Linked DNA regions of Homo sapiens: region 2 is linked to region 1. Evidence: promoter capture Hi-C in human tissues and cell types (Jung and others, 2019). All regions are on one chromosome and are shown on one strand. The core of a region is centred on a gene start or on the middle of the fragment in contact, and the rest is flanking DNA. Distances in the headings are between cores, read along the strand shown.

The links. The method cuts DNA at HindIII sites, captures the fragments that hold promoters and counts their contacts. A contact is called where the count stands out against the background at its distance.
Region 2: a fragment that was not itself captured here is called in contact with the fragment with the promoter of TMIGD1 in region 1 in 1 of the 25 tissues and cell types used here (adrenal gland).

Annotation. Positions count from the first base shown.
Region 1 is chr17:30,332,187-30,336,567 of GRCh38, forward strand. TMIGD1 (transmembrane and immunoglobulin domain containing 1) reads right to left here and starts at 1,871. Exons shown (of 7, transcript NM_206832.3): 1 at 1,814-1,871. The HindIII fragment of the contact is 9,023 bases long and covers 1-4,381 here.
Region 2 is chr17:30,546,976-30,551,356 of GRCh38, forward strand. No RefSeq gene overlaps it. Among named protein-coding and RNA genes, the nearest start is that of GOSR1, 72 kb to the left of the region's middle. RefSeq lists an enhancer at 4,043-4,381. The HindIII fragment of the contact is 6,952 bases long and covers 1-4,381 here.

The DNA.
Region 1 (4,381 bases), core at 621-3,120:
GTACTTTGGTCTGCAATGAGTTCGTGAACCTTCCTTCTGTCTATTATGCATTTAAAGTGAAGTCCCAGATGAATCATCCCAGCTATAACGGTACTACTTCTAGCTTTTAATTAAACAACCCTGTCTGACTAAGTTCAAAGTACATTTAGTAGTAAGAAATTTTTTTTAAAAGCAACATAAAACCACAGGAAATAGGCTATGACAGATAGAGCAGCGTCAGGGTGCCCTGGGGAAGATGAAACCAGTCTTCCCTAGAGAAACTGATAGAATTTCATTTTAGCAGAATGAAACTTGTCTCATTCTCAGACAGTCCCTACTGAACAAAGTAATTCTTGTTCTGAAAGTTTTTCTTGGGTCATTTTTGTAAAGATGTTCTCTGATAATAGAGAGTTTTTGAGACTACTCCAAATCCCATAGATTCAAATGGTGTGTACGTAGAAAAGCCTCAATTGAAACATGGCCTCTAGTTTAAACCATGTTAATCTTGTCTTTCTCCCACTATTCTCTCTCTCTCTTCCCCTTGACCCAATGGACTAAAAATAATAAATAATAAAGGTGTCCTTTCTCCCTTCTTGCTTTTGCTTCAACTCTCCCTCTCCCTAAGATATTCTCCATTTCCATCTGGGAAAAAAACATATATTCATTACTTCCTTTCAAGAGTACTACTATAAATATAGCGAACCACATACGGAAAACTTTCTGCGCAACAGGGACTGTGCTAAACACTTTACATACATCATTTCAGTCACAATTAAGCCTCCTAACAACCCTCCTGAGGTCGTTTCTATAGATTTAAAGAGACTATGTAATTTGCCTGAGATCCCACAGACAGTAAATGTCAAGGTCGGGATTTGAACCCAGACTCCCAAGACCATGCTCTTAACCACCCTACTCTCAACCACCCTACTACCCAATCTACTGCCTAGATTAATATTCTTTTCCTTTAAGAAGCTGCTGTTAGGCTGGGTGCAGTGGCTCATGCCTGTAATCCCAGCACTTTAGGAGCTGAGGCAGGTGGATTACCTGAGGTCAGGAGTTTGAGACTAGCCTGACCAACATAGTGAAACCCCATCTCTACTAAAAATGCAAAAAAAAAAAAAAAAAATTAGCCAGGCATGGTGGCGAGCGCCTGTAATCCCAGCTACTCGGGAGGCTGAGGCAGGAGAATTGCTTGAACCTGGGAGGTGGAGGTTGCAGTGAGCCAAGATTATGCCACTGCACTCCAGCCTGGGCGACAGAGTGAGGCTCGGTCTCAAAAAATAAAAATAAAAAATAAAAAAATAAAAAAAAGCTGCTGTTAATCTTTTCCAGTCCCTGGCCACTGGGAGTTCTCTCCCCTTAACACCAGTATTAATTTACAAGAGCTGAAATATACCTATACCTACTCTACTCCTCCCCTGTCCCAGGCGTGCCCTGACAGGAGTAAGTTTCATTCATGCCAGGCTCACCCTTTCTGGCAGACAAGCCTGCATCAATCTTTTCGTAAGATGCAATTACTACTAATATTGATTCTTTTGTAATTTTAAATATTTGCCAAAAAGATTTCTATCACAGTGTTGTAACAGTGATTACTGCAGAATGTGGTCAATAGTAGAGTTTTCTCAAGCGCTCTGCACTACAAGTACTCAATAAAAACTGAGAGTGCAGGCTTCTTGCCAGACCTCACCCAGCCCTATTAAGGGGACAAATCTATGTCTTCTCTTTCCCTCCACTCCACCGAGACAGCAACTTTTCAAAATGTATTCCCCTCACTTGGCTTGTTTTTAATCTGTATGACTCTCTACTTTCTATATAAGACAGTCTTACCACTTACCTCTTGAGCTCTGAGAAGCTGACTTCCTTGGCCAACTGTTCCTCTGCCTGAAAACCCTAAATGCTTTCCCTGTTACAATCCTTTATAATACTTGAATTTGAACGCTTTATGACAGCAGGGTCAAATAAATAAGATAACTTGGGTTCAAAGTCTGTTTTTCTTTATGGAGTCTTAGAGAAGATAGTAATTGGGAAAGACATCTTCTTAAGATCTAAGTTTCTATGTCTACCTCGGTTACTAGGTGGGGCCGGATATTACTAACAGGGATGTGTTGTTCCAAGAAAGCTTGAACTTGTGCAAAAATCTGTAGCGCATCTCACTGAATATTGTCATATTTAAGTAAGATGGCTGCGTTTTGATCATCTAGCCTGGGGATTGTGAAGGGACGAGTCCAAAGAGAAGTTTGACTTTAACAGAGGTCAAAACATTGGAAGATTCTACACAACTTAAATAATGCTGGAAAAGTCTTAGTTACCACTAGTAACCCAAGCCCAGTGCATAAGCTGTACCAAGCCAGGCATGGCAGGGAGCCGTTTTTTTGTTGTTGTTGTTTGTTTTGTTTTTTGAGGCAGGGTTTCACTCTGTCACCCAGATTGGAATGCAATGGCACAATTGTGGCTGACTGAACCTCTGCTCCCAGCCTCCCAAGGAGCTAGGACTACTGGCGTGAGTCACCATGCCCAGCTAAACTTTGTTAATATATATATTTTTGGTAGAGATGAAATTTCGCCATGTTTCCTAGGCTGGTCTCTAACTCCCGGCCTTAAGCAATCTGCCCACCTTGGCCTAGGGAACAGTTTTATCCTCTTGAGGCTCTCACCTGATTGGGAGATCCTTGCATTACACTATGTTTATGGTATTGTTAACGATGCAAATTTTATCTGCCAAGTACTATTGTTCCCATTTACACAAAAATATAACAGAAGAATATTTATAGTTATCTACACATTTTAACACACTGCTGAAGCACACCAGCAATCTGCCTCTTACTAGCTATGTAACTTTGAAAAGTTATTTAACCTCCATGAGCCTCAGGATCTTCATCAATACAATGGAAATAGTAATAGTACCCTCCCTACGGAGTCACTGTGAGGATTAAATGAAATGAAGCATGTGAATCTGCCGCACAGTAAGCTCTTGGTAAACAGTAGCTCTTATTACTATTATTATTAATATAGGCTGAGCAGGGCATCCTAAATCAACACAACCTCACTATAGCATTGTTCAAGCAAAAATCAGAGCTAAGAGCAGCTCCTGTTGGCTGGGTTGCAAGCACCACCCAAACAGGTTTTGAGTTTGCCTCTCCAGGGATCCAAGATTGTCATTTTAAAATGAATTTAGCAATGGAGTGATGTTTTGGTTCTTGGTGCCTCCAAAATAGACCCTGAGACAGAGCTTTGAGTGCCAATAGTTTATTTAAAGGTGATCTCGGCCGGGCACGGTGAGTGGCTCACTCCCTTAATCCCAGCACTTTGGGAGGCCGAGGAGGGTGGATCATTTGAGGTCAGGAGTTCGAGACCAGCCTGGCCAATGTGATGAAACCCCGTCTCTACTAAAAATAGAAAAATTAGCCAGGCATGGTGGCGGGCGCCTGTAATCCCAGCTACTTGGGAGGCTGAGGTGGAAGAATCCCTTGAGGCTGGGAGGTGGAGGTTGTGTTGAGCCAAGATTGGACCACTGCATTCCAATCTGGGCGAGAGAGTGAGACCCTTCCTCAAAAAAAAAAAAAAAAAAAAGTGATCTCAGGAAGCATAGTAAGGAAGTAAGATAGGGAAGGGAGGAAACTAGTAAAGAATGTGTTAAAGATTACTACCGTGAGCAACTATATCCCTGGAGCTTTGGACAAGTTGTATTCTGTGCAGCATACCTCAGAATCAACTACTGATAGGGAAGGAAGCAACTTCTCTCCATCTCCGGCTGAGGGACACTCTCAAGGTGTTGACTCTCTGGCACTTTCAGCCTGCCCTGTGAGGGCAAAGTGTACTCTCTCAAGCTGGCCAACATGTCCAGGAAAAGATGCTCAGGAAGTCACTGGCTATATGGGAACTCTTTGCAGGTAACTTCTGGGTAGGCCAAGGATGTGTGAGTAGAGCACCACCAGCAACTTCTACAATTGGATATTAGGTGATATTAGGAAATAATGATTAATTATTATTAGTTGTGATCATGGTATTGCAGTTATGTAGAGAATGTTCTAATTCTCAAGGGATGCCTGCTGAAATATTTATGGGTCAAGTGTCATGATAATTGCAACTACCTTTCAAATGATTCAGCAAGAAAAGTAAACACATAAACACACAGCAAATATAGCAAATGTTAACATTTATTCAACTAAATAGGGGTCTATAGATCTTCATTGTACTATTGTTTCAACTTTTCTGTATGACATTTTTGTCATCAGAATGTTGGGGAAATGTATTCAGCAGATATTTATTGAGTATCTACCATGTGCTAAGTATTCTAAGTATTGAGGATGCCAGTTGCAGCCAAGCCAATATGGTGGCTTTGTCATGAATTAGGGAAAATATGGCTTCTCTAGTCACTCTACTGCCATCTGTGGAAAATTGT
Region 2 (4,381 bases), core at 879-3,378, 220 kb after region 1:
CTAAGCAGTTTTGGGGGCACAGAAGTCGGGTGTTATGGGCTGAATTGTGTCCCCCACCCCCAAGTTGATACGTTGAAGTCCTAACCCCAAGTGCCTCAGAATGGGATTGTGTTTGGAGATGGGACCTTTAAAGGTGTAATTAAGGGGAAACGAGGTCATATGGGTGAGCCCTCATCCAATCTGTCTGGTGTCCTTATAAGGAGAGGAGATGAGGACACAGACACAGACCGAAGACCACATGGAGACACAGACAAGAGGGTGGCCACTTATAAGCCAAGGAGCCAGGCCTTAGAAGAAACCGATTCTGCTGATACCTTAGTCTTGGACTTCTGGGACCCCGAACTGTGAGAAACAATATTTCTGTTATTTAAGACCTCCATCTGTGGTATATTCTTACCGTAGCCCTAGCAAACTCGTATTGATTTTTGATACCAGGAAGTGGAATGCTGCTCTAAAAAATACGCAAAAATGTGCAAGTGGATAATGAGTAGAGGCTGGAAGAGTTTGGAGGTGCATGCTGCAAAGGCCTAGATGGTCTTTTTTATATGTTTAATTTCTGGTCAAAAATATTTTAGTTGTTTTATAGAGTTCTGGGAAAATAATTACCTAAGGAAAAGAAATAGCATTGCTTATAGGCGGGTTTGAATATTAGCCCTGTAGCTTTGCTGAGAAATTGAGAAATTCTTCTTGGTTAGAGTCCTGAATTACATTAAATGGAGGGATAGGGTTAAGGTGTTTATTTTGTGTTTTTTGCTTTCAGCTTGGTGTTTTTGGTTGTTGTTGTTGCCCCAAGTGAGTCCAAAACCCAACCGGGAAAAGAACATTAAATCTTAAAACTTGAGAACCTTCTTTGACTCCATGGCCCATGTTCCAGATATACTAGGATGTGGTTGGGCGGCCCAGGGCTTCAGGTGGCTCTTCCCCCATGGCTTTGCTGGGTGCAGCCCAGGCAGCAGCTCTCACATGTTGGAGTTTGATGCCTGAGGCTCTCCCAGGGTGGACTTGCACACTGCTGGCTCTACCATCCTGGAATCTTGGGGATAGCCTCTTCCCCACGGCTCTGCTGGGCATTGCCCTAGTGGGAACGTTCTGTGGTGTCCCTGCCCCTGTGGCAGTTTTCTGCCTGACCCCAAGGCTGTCTGGGACATACTTTGAAATGCAGGTGGAGGCAGCCATATCCCACAGCTATTGCACTCTGCACACCTGCAGAATGAGCACCACGTGGATGCTCCAAAGAGTTTTCTGCCTGTGTCCTCTGGAGGGGTGATAGCATGTCCCCCACTCCACCAGGGCCCATTGAGCAACACTTGGAGCAGCCAAGGAGCACCACAGCACAGTGTGGGAACCAGCGACTTCAGGGAGTGCTGGGCAGCAAGCCCCAAGGTCCTCAGGGGTCCTCAGGGCGCCCCAGGGCCTTTCTTGGAAACCGTACTGCCGTCAGTGCCCTGGCACCATGGGCCTGTGACGAGAGTGCGGCCTGAGTGATCCACACAATGCCTTCAGGGTCGCTCTTCCATTGTCCTGGTGAGGAGCACAGCCCTGATCCACGCAGGCCTCCTGACCCACACCCTCGTGTTCGCTCCCAAACACACTTTCTTATCTGTTCAAAACGGGCAGGCTGAGAAGGCTAAAAGTTTCCCAAATCTTTAAGTTCTGCTTCCCTTTTGATTATAAGTTCTGTCTCTAAATCATTCCTCTTTTTCTTTCATTTTCCTATAAACGTTCAAGACAATCAAGCCGCTCCTTCAATACTTTGCTGAGATATTTCTTCTGCCAAATTTCAGTTACATCACTCACAAGTTCTGCCTTCCACCAAACACTAGTGCTTTGCCACTTTATGGCAAGCGTCACTCACCTTTCCTCCAGTTTCCATTTACCTCTTCTTGATTTCCATCTGAGACTTCATCAGAATGACCTTTCCTTTCCATATTCTTTTTTTTTTGTTTGTTTTTTAGAGACTGGGAGCCACCGACATGCCAGGAGACAGGCCTGGAACAGAACCTTCCTGCACAGCCTCAGAAGAAACCCACCCTGCTGACACTTTGATCTTGGACTCATGGCCTCCAGTACTGTGAGACAGTAAGATTCTGTTGTTGAAGGTGCCCAGTCTGTGGTACTGTAAAACAGCCCTAGGAAACTAACATAGCCTATTAGCCTACAGGGTGAAGAGATGGAATTCGCAATGGACCTCCAGGCTTACTGTCTACAGCTCCCAAAGTGTGCTGTCGGACCCTTGGGTGTGTGTAGGTATGCAAGATAATTTTGGGTGGTGCAGAGTGAATAATGTCAACTTACATAATGGATTTATCTTACTGGATAAATCACGGGTTCCCTCCTGTTTGGAACCAGGCTGCACAGCAGGAGGTGAGCAGCCAGCCAGTGAGCAAAGCTTCATCTGTAGAAACAGCCGCTCCCCATCCCTTGCATTACCACATGAGCTGTGTCTCCTGTCAGATGAGTGGTGCCATTAGATTCTCATAGGAGCATGAACCCTACTGTGAACTGCGCATGCCAGGGATCTAGGTTGTGTGCTCCTTATGAAATCTAATGCCTGATGATCTGTCACTGTCTCCCATCACCCCCAGATGGGACCATCTAGTTGCAGGAAAACAAGCTCAGTGTTCCTACTTATTCTACATTATGGTGAATGGTATAATTATTTCATTATATATTACAGTGAAATAATAATAGAAATAAAGTGCACAATAAATGTAATGGGCTTGAATCATCTCCGCATCATCCTTTCCCCTTCTCCCGGGTCCGTGGAAAAGTCTTCCATGAAACTGGTCTCTGGGACCAAAAAGGTTGGGGACCACCGGTATAAATGCTTCTAAGAATAGTTAAGCAAATTAAGGTTTACATGCTGCTAAAAATATGGGTTTCAATGCTAAGAAAAATGGATGCACGTGAAAACACTCTCTTGCTGTGGTCCAGGGAATCTAAACCATTCTAACAGAGAAACGTGCAGCTTGGAGCTGGAGCTGCCCTCCGACATCCTGTCCACCTCATATCCCTGCACCACACACGCATGCACACATGCAAGCAGACATGTACACATGCATACGTGCATGCACATGAACGCACACACACGCACACATGCACATAAATACACGTGCATATACCTGCACACACACACACTCACACACACACACACACTCTCACTGTGCTTCATGCCCTAAGGTGGCCTGGGAGGGAATGCGTGTTTTTAAGGGGAATGAAGATGACTCAGGCCCCTCGTTCTCCTGGCGTTTGCACCAGTGTCTTCTCTGCAGACCATGCTTCAGTCTCTTTCTTGGCTCTCTCTCTTAGTGAAAGCAAGAAGCAGAGCCCCTGCGTGTACCTGGCTGCTTAGGGTGCAAGCCAAGTTCACAAGCTTCCCGGGGAGCCTGGTGAGAAGAAGGCACTGCAGAGCCTCCCCAAAAGAGGCGTCAACTTTTGGTGGATCCTTGAGCCTGGGAAAATGATAGACGGGACATCACAGTTCATCAGAAGACACAAACAAAATCCACTCAGGAAGAGCAGCAGTCAAAGGTTTTATTCTCTCGGAGAAGGTTCTCGGGGGCTGTAAGCAGCAGGCAGAAGACTTTATTGCATGTGTGGTTAGGTGATGGCAACCTCCAGTTTTCACTGGGAACTGGGATCAAGAGTGACCCGACCTCCTCCGCAGCCCCTAGGGATGAGTCAGCTGCCTCTTCTGCATGCTGACAAACCTTGGCTCTCATTTATGCCCCACCGCAAGCCAGCCACACCCCTGCCTCACCAGCATAACCACCTCCTCCTGACTTTAGCCCTGACAGCACTGCTTCCTGGTAACCTTCCCCCTCCCACCATGGTCCAGGCAAGCCTAAATGCCAGCGCCCTCCACCCACCCTTCCTGGGTGCCACTCTACTGTCTGCTTACCCAGATGTCTTAACCTGGCTTTACCAAGATGGAACAGACAACAGGGATGAGCCCCCAGCCTCTCCCAGGAAGGTTTGGCAAAATGCTCTCCATTTAGAAGCAGGGGCAGTGACGCGGCCTAGGGATGACCCCAGGCTTGTCACCCAAGCAGTAAGAAGGGCAAGGAGCCCAGTTTCATGCCCTTACCCTGGGAGGATGTGGCCAGGGCTCCACAAGTCCCTCGGGGGTAGGGGGAGTGCACAGGAGAGCAGATCCACCCTCCTTTTGAGGAAGTAGCCACCACTCCCAGGAAGCAGCAGATGGGGTGCACTGGCAGAGACCCTGCGTGCTGTAGAGCAGGGCCAGCAGATTTGCACTCAGCCTCAGCCCCAGGGGAGCTGCAAGACAGACTGAGACCCTCACAGGTTTGGCTCTGTGTCCCCACTCAAATCTCATCTGGAATTGTAATCCTCCTGTGTCAAGGGAGGAACCTGGTGGGAG